Regions from separate parts of the Homo sapiens genome. Here regions 2 and 3 are each linked to region 1. Evidence: promoter capture Hi-C in 16 types of primary human blood cells and fetal thymus (Javierre and others, 2016). All regions are on one chromosome and are shown on one strand. The core of a region is centred on a gene start or on the middle of the fragment in contact, and the rest is flanking DNA. Distances in the headings are between cores, read along the strand shown.

Region 1 (4,024 bases), core at 1,058-3,557:
CCGGTTTTGTGGAAGAGAAAAACAAGCAGCAGAGTGGCTCACCCAAGCTGGCACAGCAGAGTTAGGATTCAAACTCGAGCCTGCCTGATGGCAAGCCTCATGGCCCTCCTGTGGTGCCGCCTGCCTCCCACCAACATGATTCTGTGAGTGTCTCACTGCTGTCCCCTACCACCAGTGGATATGTTACTCTGCGTAGCCAAGCCAGGCATGTGGGTATCAAGAGGGTCCCTGGACAGAGATGGAGGAGAGAAAATGCCAACAAAGAACAGGGGAGTGTGCTCAGAAAGGGACAGAGACCACCAGGAGGCTGCTGGCTGCTGAGGGTCCGCAGCGCTGGTGGAGGCACAGGAGAGGGAGAATGTTCTGAGTACAGGGAGGAAACAGAAGGAGGCAGAGGCCAGGGATGTGTCCATAGACATGACATGGAGTTTGGTCCGGCCAGAAGGGTCCAGGAGCAGAGGCATGCTGGAGAGCAGAGGCATGCTGGAGAGCAGAGGTATGCTGGCGCCAGAGCGCACATGATGCAGGACAACGTGATGTCAAGGGAGGCAGGGAGGCAGGAGAAGGCAGAGACTGGGCCTCCGAGCAGTGTTGACTGCCCACTTGCCCACAGCTGGAGCCCCACCATGGGGTGCTCGCCTGGCACCACTTTTCTGCCCAACTGCTGGCATCTACCCTGGCGCAGGGTCTTCTGGAGAAAATGAGTCAGCAGTGTGCTCACTGGTGCCGCGCGCGCGTATGTGTGTGTGTGTGTGTGTGTGTGTGTGTTGTGGTGAGGGGGTGCGGGGCGGGGGAATCGCAAACAGCCAGCTTTTTCCAAGACATGGGGAAGAAAGGAGGGGGTGTCATCCCGCGGACTCCAGCTCAAAGGGGGCAGGGCCCAGCTACAGCCCTAACAGCCTCTGGGGAGTGTCCTGGTGTCCTGGGGGCAGGATGGAAAGAGAGGAGCGCCGTCCACAGGCCCCAACGGGCTGCTTGCATGCTGCTGGCTCCCACACACACCCACACGCTGCGCCGGCTCCAGCACAGGCTCACTCTCTCTTACAACTCCTACTCCACACGCTGGGAATCCCAGCCTCTGGGCCCCAGCTCCGCGCAGCCGCTCCTGGGAGAGTCCCTGCCCCTCTCCGGCCCTGTCTCCCGATCTGTACACTGAGGGGTTCCGCACAGTGATCGCCCAGGGCCCTTTCTGCTCTGACATGCTGGCTCTCACTTTTTCTCTCTTACACACGTGAAAGGGACAGGAACCGAGAAGCAGGAAACACAGACACACAGACCCAGGCCGACTAACACAAACACGCGGAGATTTCCAGAAACGCGGGGACGTGCAGAGCCACACAGACACGGAGACAGGAGCAGAACCCGAGACCTGGTGACCTAGAAACTTGCGGACAATTTCACAAGAACAGATAGAAACGGAGACGTACAGGCTTGGGACCTGCAGACACTGAGACACCGGAACACACCGAGACGGCCCCAAACGGAGACCCCCCTCCTCCCCCAAGCATCCAAAAAGCCCCCCTCCGCACCCCGCCGGCCGCTCCAGGCGCCACCACCCACCCCCACCCCCGACCCCCGGGCTGGCTCTGCCCCCGCCCCAACGGGATCGGGCAGCCGGGCCAGGCGCGGCAGGGCGGGCAGCGTTCGCCAACTCTCGCCCGGCCGGGGGCGCAGCCCCTATTAACCCTTGGCGTCCCGCCTCGCGGGGGCGCAGGAAGGGGCAGGAAGCTGACGTTCCGCTGGAAGCGACCGCATGGCGGGGAACCCCGGCCCTCCCCGAGATTGGAGCAGCAGGAAGCTAGGGAGGGGGCGTCCCCGAGTTCGTACTCACCCCCCGCGCGCCGCCGCCGCCGCCGCTGTGCCTCGGGCCCCCCGCGCCGATCCCGCTCCCATGGCAGGCCCCTACTTCATGCTCCCGAGCCCGGGGGGCAAGTGTGGGCGCGCCCCATGGGGCCGCCAGCCCCCCGCCCCGCCGCGCCAGGCCGGCTTAGAGCGCGCGGCCCCCGCGCCCCCAGCGCAGCCCCGCGCCCAGGGGCGCCCGAGCAGGCAGGCAGCGCGGCTGGGGCCCCGCGGGCGCCCGCGCCAGGCCCATGGTCCCAGGAGTCCGGGCGCCGCGCTCGCCCCTGCCTCGGTCCTTTTCTGCTTCCACCAAAAAGGAAGAAGAAGCAAGAAAAAGAGAGAGAGAGATGATCAAACTTTTGGAGGCGGGCTGCTGGCGGTCCCCGGAGGCAGAGCAAGGCCGGGTGAGGGCGCGCGGAGGGCGGTGGAAGCTGCCTCCCCGCCGGCCTGGGGGAGGAGAGGAAAAGGAAGGATTTGGGGGAAATGAAGGCGATTTAAAGTCTCGGCCCGCGGTGGCTCTCCACCTTCCCTCCTCCCCGCTCCCGGCCGCCCTCTGCTGCCCCCTGCTGCCCCCTGCCGGCCGGAGCCAAGGGTACAGCCTCAGCTGGCCCACTACAGCCCCGATGGGACACCCGCCCCCCTCCTCCTTGTATAGATGGGGAAACAGATTCACAGAGAGGAAGGGGCTGCCCAGGGCTTCACGGTGATTTGATCACCGTTCTGAGATTAGGAACTTCTGACTGGTGAGGCTGGGGGTCCTCCAATGGGGGGTTGGGGTAGGGGAGAAGGGCCAAATTCTACTCCTGGAAGAAACCCACAGTTTCAGGGACGGAGCTAGGACCAGAACTTGGTGTCCAGACGCCCACGACAACCAGTATCGTGATCCCCACCGCCCACCAAAAGTTTGCGCTCCCAGACTCGGAGCGCCCTGGAGAACATATAGGGTGGGCTTGTTAAGGGTTTGCCACCCTCTCTCTCCCTTCTGTCAGCAATTGGAATCTAACCGCACCCCACCACCACCACTAACCACGCACCTCCCCAGAATCGACAAAAACTCCCTCGGATCCCATCCGGGAGCTAAGAGCTGCACACCTTGGCCCCCGGGCAAATTCTCACACCCAAAACTCCAGTCCAGCCCTGGGACCACAGCTCCCTCCGCCTCTACCACCTCTTGCCACTCGTTCACGAGCAAAGTTACACTTATTCACCGGTGCACACACACACTCCCACACGTATCCACCCTTTCCCCAAACTCAGACACACGCTCACACACGGTCCCATTCTGGGACAGCCACGCACCCTTCCTAGGTTCACACGAAACGCATCCTCAGATATCTGGGCTCAGGCGCACGCTGATACTCTACACTCGCAGAAGCATGCACACGGATGCTTACACAGGCACAAATGCACGCTATCCTGGCCATATCGCCCCCACACATGTACACACCCCGGGTGGACACACGCGCGCACACCCTCACTTGCACACAGTTCTCCGAGAGTGCCCACCGCACATGTGCACACACGCATTCACTCCTCACGCGTGTACCCACCTCCCCATACGCGCACACCTTTAGGCGCGCGCACACACAGGCATATAACACTTCGCACCGCTCCAGGAGCCCCCAAGCACTTACTGGGTCCCTACGTGCGAGGCTGGCCGGTCGGTCCTTCCTCCGGCGCCTAACGGCATTTGTATTCATGGGTCCCCGCAGCCGTGGGCGCGGGGGCGGGGGGCGAGGTCCCCTTCCCTAAACGGGGCGCGGGCGCGCGGAGCGCAGCGGCACCGGGAGGGGCATGGGCGCGCGGGACTGCGCCGCCGACCCGGTCCGCCTGCGCTCGAACTTCGGCAGCTCTGCGTCCACGGGCTCCGGCGCGGGCTCCGAGAGCTGGGGGCGGCTCATAGGTGCTGGGGCGGCGGCGCCCGCCGGGCCTTTTGAAGTCTCCGCTGGGGGCGGGGAGGGGGCGCTGAAGGCGGCCTTTTAAACCCTGGCTGCACGCGGGCTCGGTCGAGCAAGGTGTCTGGTTTCAACAAACTTTAGGAAAAGTCCCAAGCCGAGAGAGGGGAGGTAGGGGGGTTGGGGGAGCTGCATAGCTGTGCGCTGCTTCCTGCAGAGGGCAGAGCACCCATGGCTGCCAGGAGGGAGGCCAGTCGCGGGACTGGGGAACTGGCAGGCTGCTGGCCGGC
Region 2 (3,912 bases), core at 1,136-3,635, 77 kb after region 1:
CAGTTTACAGTTCACTTCCTCACACATTGTCTCTCTTGGCCTCTTGACAGACAGAACAAGAACTGTTTTCTTCCGTTCACAGATACGGAAAGTGGTCTTTAGCGAGGGAAAGCCACCTCCAATATCATGCAGAACAAGGAGAAGTTGGGGGCTACCACCTCCTCATTACCATCATTAACTAAAACATCAAAGATTGAGAAACTTTGTGAACACAAGGAACACGAAGATAACTGTCCCAGAAAGCTAAACCAAGACAGTAACTGTGCTTAAACTTACATCATGGCTTTGAGCTTCCTAGCAGCCAAAGCAAGAAGGGAATATAATCACTGGCCAAGGTTAGGGTGACGGAGCAAAGGAAACACATTTATGAATAGAAGCACACTTGTTCTGGATACCAGTGAAAGAGGGATGTACTGACTGAATCTTACAGAAGGGACATGATACACCATTTGTTTCTGCACTGACTACATGGGGGAATCCTTTGATTCTCACATAAGCAGGGGTCTTAATCTTGGGACTGCCTGCCCGAAGGGGTCATTCCCAGCTCTAACAGAGAGGTGGCTGAGAGTATGGAATGTTCCATGCCAAGAGCAGGGAGGAAGTAAGGACAGTAGATTTAACCACTGGAGAAGGGAAATTCATAGAGAGGCCTTTGGTATTGCTGGCAAGAGTGTGAGCTCACAGACAACGGACCTGGGTTTTAAAAAATTCTCATTTAAAATCTTAAATTTAGGCTGAGCGCAGTGGCTTACGCCTGTAATCCCAGCACTTTGGGAGGCTGAGGTGAGAGGATCACCTGAGGTCAGGAGTTAGAGACCAGTCTGGCCAATATGGTGAAACGCTGTCTCTACTAAAAATACAAAAATTAGCCAGGCATGGTGGTGGGCACCTGTAATCTCAGCTACTCGGGAGGCTGAGGCACAAGAATCACTTCAGCCCAGAATGTGGAGGTTGCAGTGAGCCGAGATCGCACCACTGCACTCCAGCCTGGGCGACAAGAGTGAAACTCCGTCTCAAAATAATAAATAAATAAATAAAACCTTAAGTTTAATAACTACTGTATTAGTTTCCTAGGGCTGCTAGGAAATGTGTCTTCTCTCAGCACTGGAGGTCAGACACCTGAGACCAAATTTTCAGCAGAGCCATGTTCCCTTTGAAGATTCTGGGGAAAAGTCCTTCCTTGCCTTTTGCTAGCTTTTGGTGGCTGCCATCAATCCTTGGTGATTTTTGACGTGTCACTGCATCCCTCCCATCTCTGCCTTCGGCGTCACGCCACATCTTCCCCGTGCTTCTCTCTGTGTCCCTGTGTCTGAGTCTCCCTCACCATTCTCTTATAAAGATACCGGTCATTGGATTTAAAACCCCTGTCATCCAGTTCAACCTCATCTAACTAATCACATCTGCAAATCAGGTTCATTCTGCGGTTCGGGGTGCACATGGATTCTGGAGGGGGCACTGTTCAACCCACCACAAACACTCAGCTCTTACTCTATGCTGGGTACTGTCCTAGCGCATTGCAGGTGCTCACTCAACAATGCTAGGAGCTAGGAACTATTATTATCCCCATTTACAGATGAGGAAACCAAGGCACTGAAAGGTAAAGTGACTTGCCCAAGGTCACACAGCAGTGAGTGCCACTGTAGGCTGCCTGGCTCCCACGTCCATGGTCTCTACCACGCCTTTCCCAGCTACTCCACTCCCGGCTGAGGGATTCTGGGCAAGTCACTTCACTTCTTGGAGACTCAACTCCTCTGCCTGTAAAGGGGACAAATAGCACCTACTTCGTAAGCTTGTTGTGGGGATTTACTGGACACCTGTGGCACGTGTAAAGTGCCTGGTACACAGCCAGCACATAGCAGGTGCTCAGTGAACGGAAGCTCGTAACAGTCATCATTGTTAATGTCTCTATTATTTGCAAAGGCTAGGGCAAGCCTGGGGGCTGGAGAAGGAACTCTGGAGACAGGATACCTGGGTTCTGGTCTTGGCTCTGCCCATAGACTTCCCTGAGGTCTCTGGCAAGTCACTTCCTCTCCTTGGGCCTCAGTTTTTTCCTGTGAGAAATGGGCCCAATCAGGCTTGACCTGCTGGCTCACAGAGCTGTGAGGTCCAGATGGCATGACTCAGCAGAAAGGCCAGGTCGCTCCCCATCCTCGCATGCCCTCTGTGGGGGACTTTTGGGGGGCGGAGCCCAATCCTGGTGCTCCAGGGCCCTATTGTGCTTGGCCAATGCCTCTTCTGAAGCAGCCATCCCGGCCTCTTGGTACTGCTGACCCCAGCCAGGCTACAGGGATCGATTGGAGCTGTCCTTGGGGCTGTAATTGGCCCCAGCTGAGCAGGGCAAACACTGAGGTCAACTACAAGCCACAGGCCCCTTCCCCAGCCTCAGTTCACAGCTGCCCTGTTGCAGGGAGGCGGTGGCCCTTCTGTTGCTAGACCGAGCCTGTGGGATATACCAAGGCAGAGGAGCCCATAGCCATGAGGAGCCTCGGGGCCCTGCTCTTGCTGCTGAGCGCCTGCCTGGCGGTGAGCGCTGGCCCTGTGCCAACGCCGCCCGACAACATCCAAGTGCAGGAAAACTTCAATATCTCTCGGGTAAGGCTGCCGCTCTCTGTGGTAGGGTGGATGTGGTGATGGGGAGTCCAGGCAGATGGGCCCTGCTGGGCAAGTGCGGCCTGTCTCGGGGTCTCAGGCTTCCACTCAGATCATCTGGGATTATGGGATCCTTTGAAGGTACAGCTCTATCCCCTGCCATTCCGTGGGTCTCTTGGCTGACATTCTATGAGTCAAACATCCTCACCTTCTGCACTGTCCTCGTGGGCTCCAAGGGGAACCCTTGTGTTAATGGGAACCTGCTCCAGAGAAGGCTTTGTCCTGCCTGCCACTGCCCTGCAGCCCCCGTGCAGACACCTAGCTTTGCCCAGACCTCCCAGCCCTTCCTTCTCTAATGACTCCCCTCTCTCTGTGGCATCTTTCCCTTAGCTCTTCCTGTGTCCCCTGCCCACATCCTGGCCTGACTGTGGACAGACACCTGGGGTGGCACAGCGTGGGCATGTGGCCAGCAGCTTTTGGGTTGGGCATGTGGGGCTTATGGGAAGAGGTGAAGCAGGACAGAGATTAGGGTTGGGAGACATTCAGAGGCTTGGGCACAAGGAGAGACCTGGACTGGGGCAGGACACTCTCCTGTGAGTGTGGAGTGCCAGAGCTGCCTTCCAGCCCCCACTCTGCCCTAAATCCCGGGGTGGCTTTGAGAATACCCTTGCCCACCTGGGGCTGTCTCCATGTCTGTATGAAGGGTCTCAGAACCTTCTAGCTGTGGTGTCATGTGGGTTTTGTTTACTTTTAGGGACAAGGAAAGGTCGTGGCAGAGGGGCAATGAGGAGCAGGTCCCTGTGGCAGTCTGGGACGCAAAGGGTGTGGGGCACATTGGCCTGTTCCGTAGGAGCCTGAGGGCTCCTTCAGCTGTCCCGTGCACTTTCAGGAGGAAGAGGAAGCAGGCCTATCCTGAATGACCCCATCATGTTCATTATACTTTTGAAATAATTCCTAACATGGGGCTGTGGGCTGCCTTGCAAGGTGGGGAGCACCCCATCATTGGAGGAGTAAAAGACAGGACTCCAGCTCTTGGGGAGCAGTGGTTGATGGAGCTATGGACAGATCCCACATCTTGAGAGAGTTAGCCCTTCTGCAGGGCAGGTTGGGACCCCAGCCGCACACCTGCTTCCTGGGTTCGCTGTGATGCCTGAAACGCCACTCTTAGGGATCTGGCCTCCCTTGAAGGTGTGTGGCCTCTGATTAGTTGTAAGACATTATCCCTTAAAAGGATAAGTCATTTTGAGGAGAAGGAGGAGGAAGAGGAGGAGGTGGAGGGTGGGGAGCAGATGTCAGCCAGGTCTGCTTTGAGGTCTGAGACTG
Region 3 (4,037 bases), core at 68-2,567, 100 kb before region 1:
GGAGAACAGAAAGACTGGGTGAGAATGGGCCATTTTATAGAGTGATCTCAGAGCTCAGAAGGCATGCAATGCACCGCTGGGAAATTTCGGGAGCCAAGTCTCTACATCAAGGCATAGAGTGCTGAAAAGAGCAGGCTGTAGCACTGGAGAACCCGGGCTCACATGCCAGTTTGGCCACTTACTAATTGTGCCATCTTAGGCACGTTACTTCAACTCACTGGGCCTCAGTTTTGTCATCTATAACATGGGGATAGAAGAGTCCTTACCCCCTAGAGTTTCTAGAAGGTGAAGTGACAAAGTCCTCAGGAAAAGGTAGCTGCCTGCTCTCGCAAGGCAGGAGGAGGTCAGAATTGAATGCTAGACCCAACTCTGGTCACTGGGTGACCCTAGGCAGGTCCCAGGGCGACCCTAGGCAGGTCCCAGGGCCTCACTCCCACCCCCAATAATGGGGATAATAATCTTTTTTTGTTGAGATGGAGTCTTGCTCTGTCGCCCAGGCTGGAGTGCAGTGGCGCTATCTTGGCTCACTGCAAGCTCCGCCTCCCAGGTTCACACCATTCTCCTGCCTCAGCCTCCCGAGTAGCTGGGACTACAGGTGCCCGCCGCCATGCCCGGCTAATTTTTTTCTGTTTTTTAGTAGAGACGGGGTTTCACCGTGTTAGCCAGGCTGGTCTTGATCTCCTGACCTCGTGATCCGCCAGCCTCGGCCTCCCAAAGTGCTGGGATTACAGGCATGAGCCATTGCACCTGGCCTGGGGATAATAATCTTGATAGATCTCAATGTGCTATCGGACAACATGGAGGTGAAAGTGATTGATAAAGTGGGAAAATGCCAATCAGGTGTGAACAATATCACCAGAAATGTCACTTTTAATCGTAGTAGCCTTACTCATAATAGTGGCAATGATCATCTCTAACAAATAGTTATCACCATTCATGAAGCACACAGTTATGCAGGAGGGCTGTGAGACACCACATCATGCACTGCACCATTTCCGATGACAATCTCATACTCCAGGTGGCATCATGCTGACTTACAGATGGGGAAACTGAGGGTCGGAGAAGCTATGAATGTTGCCAACAATCCCGCAGCCGGCAAGTCGGGGAGCCAGAATTTCACCCCCATGTATCTGATTCTGAAGGTGGTTTTCTGGGCCTCCGAGCTAGCCGGCTTCCCCAGTGTCGCTGGCCAGGAGGAACCCCAAGAGATCCAAGGGACCAGCCCTGTACCGTAGCAGTGGGGGACCATGGCAACCTTGGGATCAGAAACAGCAGTAAGTGACCGTCTGATTTCACCAAGCCTGAGCCAACCCACTGAAGAGGGGGAAGCACTGAGGAGATGGGGTGGGGTGGGGAGGTGAGTGGAGCCAGGGAGGCAAGGGATTCAGAGGAGGCTTGCACCTTCTTCTCTGTATTGGCCTGAATATCCCCACTCTTTCCCCATCTCCCGCTGGCCTTCCATTGTGTCCCAGTGACTCCTTTCCTGGCTTTCCTCCTCCCACTAGACAGATGGGGAGACAGGCCCAGGACGGCTGAGGTGCAGGGGTGCCAGGGATAGAACTCGATGATGTACCCCCAGCATCCTTGTACTCAGGCTTCGGCCCTACTCTGGGCACCCCCCATGCTGAGGGCTCCAATCACTCTATCTCTGACCACTGGGAGGGAGGCCGGGCCCTTGCATTCCAAGCTGGGTGCCTCGGCCAGCCGTGCTAGCCCCCTGACCAGAATGCTGGTCCTCTGACCCCCTGCTTCTACCCCAACAGTCCTACTTCCACACTGCCAGCTCCTCCAGCCCTGGGCCAGATGTGACTTTTCCTCCTTCTCATGAAAAGGGCAAAAATATGTCACTGGGAGCCCAGAGTGCTGGCTTCTGCTTCCAACTGTGCTCCTCAAGAACGTTCCAACTTGTCCAAAGAATCATGAGGATGGACAGAGACCCCTGGTGCTGATGCCTTCTCCTCTGGGTGACGGTCACCTATATCCAGGCCTCTCACCCTTGGACTAGTCCACCCCTCTACCTCCTCGGCCCCTGGCATGGCCTGGCACAGAGTAGGTGCTCGATAAAAGTCTGTTAATGATGGAGAGAATGTTTATACTTGACAGCCCCACCAGACAGTGAGAGTCTTAAGAGCTGGAACTCTTTCTTACCATTTTTGTACCTCCAGGGAGGAGCTTATGCTAGCACACAGCAGGTGCATGAAAAAGTGTAGGAGCTGAGTTGGCCTTGCTTCCCTAATCACAGTAGAGAACAGGTTTATGCGAGCTTCCCCTGGGTTCAAACCATGAAAGGCTTCAGGGCCCTTCCTCATCAGACCCCAGGGAACTCCTCAGTCTGGACTTTGGAGACACCCAGGCAACCTGAGCTCATCGCCCCTCAGCCCTACCTCCGGATCTGTGCCTGGGCTGGTCCCTCTACCCCCACACCCTCCCCAACTTCCCCAAGCCCACCTCGGACTGGGCTCCCAGCCCTGACCCCTGGCTTTGGCTGAAGCGAGTGCCCTTTCCTAGTTTCCATCCTCCATTGGCAGAAACAGGGATCTGAAGCAAGTTCTACCTGCTCCAAATGAGAGCAAGCCCACCCCCACCCCCTGCACATCATCACCCCTGGGAAGGAGAAGGGGCTCTTGAACTTGAGTGCTCCTGGCCGCACCCTTCCCCCAGCTCTCCCAGCCTCTCCCACCACTCTGCCTTGAGAGCCTCCCACCAACCCTGCTTCCTCAGTCATCATGAGAAGCCCAGGCCCCTGAGGACCCTCAGCCCTGTTTGTCCAGCATTTCCCATCTTTGTGCCTGCTCTTCCAGAACAGACATCACTTACTGGGTTCTATCTACCCTGCCCCCCCATACCAGACTACATGCTCCAAAGGAAGGGACCACTTTCTACCTTTCTTGCTGCCACATCCCCAGCTCCTGGAACTGCCAAAACCCCATCTCTACTAAAAATACAAAAATTAGCTGGGTGTGGTGGCACACGCTTGTGATCCCAGCTACTAGGGAGGCTGAGGCACGAGAATCTCTTGAACCCAGGAGGTGGAGGTTGCAGTGAGTGGAGATTGGGCCCCTTCACCCAGCTCCTGAAACTGCCCACAAGCACTTATCGCTCAGTAACTACAGAGTGAATGAGTGAATGGACAAAAGCAATAATGCTGCTAATAACCAAAATGCTTCCAGGGAACAAACACCATTCTGTAATGAACATTAGCCCCACGCTTCCATTTAACCCACACGATCACACTATCCTGACCATGATTCTTTTTTCTGTTTTTCAAATGAGCAAAATTCAGGCTTGGAGAAGTTAAATGATCTGCCCCAGGAATACAGTCAGATCTGCCCCAGGATTATAGTCAGAAAGTGGTGTAGCTGGGATTCTACCCAGGTCTGTCTGATTCTGAGGCTTGAACTCCTAACCCTTATTCTTTTTCTCCTCTTCTCTTCTCTTCTGTTCTTCTGTTCTTCCTTCCTTCCTTCATTCCTTCCTTTCTTTTCTTTTCCTTTCTTTCCTTTCTTCCTCCCCTCCCGCCCTCCCTCCCTCCTCTTTTTTCTCCTCTTCTTTCTGTCTTTTTTCCTCTTTCTTTTTTCTTTCTTTCTTTCGTCTTTCTTTCTTCCTCCACTCCCTTCTTTCTTTCTCCCCTCCCTTCCTCTCTCTTTCTTTCTTTCTTTCTTTCTTTTTCTCTGTCTCTTTCTTTCTTTTCCTTTCTTTTTTTTGAGACAGGGTCTAGCTCTATCACCCAGGCAGAGTGCAGTGGCACGATCTTGGCTCACTGCAACCTCTGCCTTCTGGGTTCAAGCGATTCTCATGCCTCAGCCTACTGAGTATCTGGGATTACAAGTGCGTGTCACCACGCCCAGCGAATTTTTGTATTTTCCGTAGAGACAAGGTTTTGGTATGTTTGTCAGGCTGGTCTTGAACTCTGGCCTCAAGTGATCGGCCTCCCGAAGTGCTGAGATTACAGGTGTGAGCCACCACACCCAGCCACCTAACCCTTATCTGACAGTGGTTTGAGCTTAGGGATCACGAGGGCTTTGCTTACCTGGGGT

The links. Contacts are between HindIII fragments. The CHiCAGO score rates a contact against its expected background, and 5 or more counts as called.
Region 2: the fragment with the promoter of AMBP here is called in contact with the fragment with the promoter of COL27A1 in region 1 in 1 of 17 cell types (endothelial precursors); the score reaches 7.3 in endothelial precursors.
Region 3: a contact is called between a fragment that was not itself captured here and the fragment with the promoter of COL27A1 in region 1, in 1 of 17 cell types (endothelial precursors). The highest score is 7.3, in endothelial precursors.

Annotation. Positions count from the first base shown.
Region 1 is chr9:114,153,820-114,157,843 of GRCh38, reverse strand. It overlaps COL27A1 (collagen type XXVII alpha 1 chain), which reads right to left and starts at 2,307. Exons shown (of 61, transcript NM_032888.4): 1 at 1,832-2,307. The coding sequence starts at 1,893. It overlaps LOC105376225 (a long non-coding RNA gene), which reads left to right and starts at 3,576. Exons shown (of 5, transcript XR_930256.3): 1 at 3,576-4,024. RefSeq lists silencers at 1,141-1,435, 2,323-2,442 and an enhancer at 3,979-4,024. The HindIII fragment of the contact is 6,106 bases long and covers 1-4,024 here.
Region 2 is chr9:114,076,773-114,080,684 of GRCh38, reverse strand. It overlaps AMBP (alpha-1-microglobulin/bikunin precursor), which reads left to right and starts at 2,385. Exons shown (of 10, transcript NM_001633.4): 1 at 2,385-2,592. The coding sequence starts at 2,476. It overlaps LOC107987120 (a long non-coding RNA gene), which reads left to right. Exons shown (of 3, transcript XR_001746905.1): 3 at 83-745. The HindIII fragment of the contact is 5,279 bases long and covers 1,792-3,912 here.
Region 3 is chr9:114,252,926-114,256,962 of GRCh38, reverse strand. COL27A1 (collagen type XXVII alpha 1 chain) reads right to left here. Exons shown (of 61, transcript NM_032888.4): 27 at 4,031-4,037. Among named protein-coding and RNA genes, the nearest start is that of MIR455, 46 kb to the right of the region's middle. The HindIII fragment of the contact is 5,623 bases long and covers 1-4,037 here.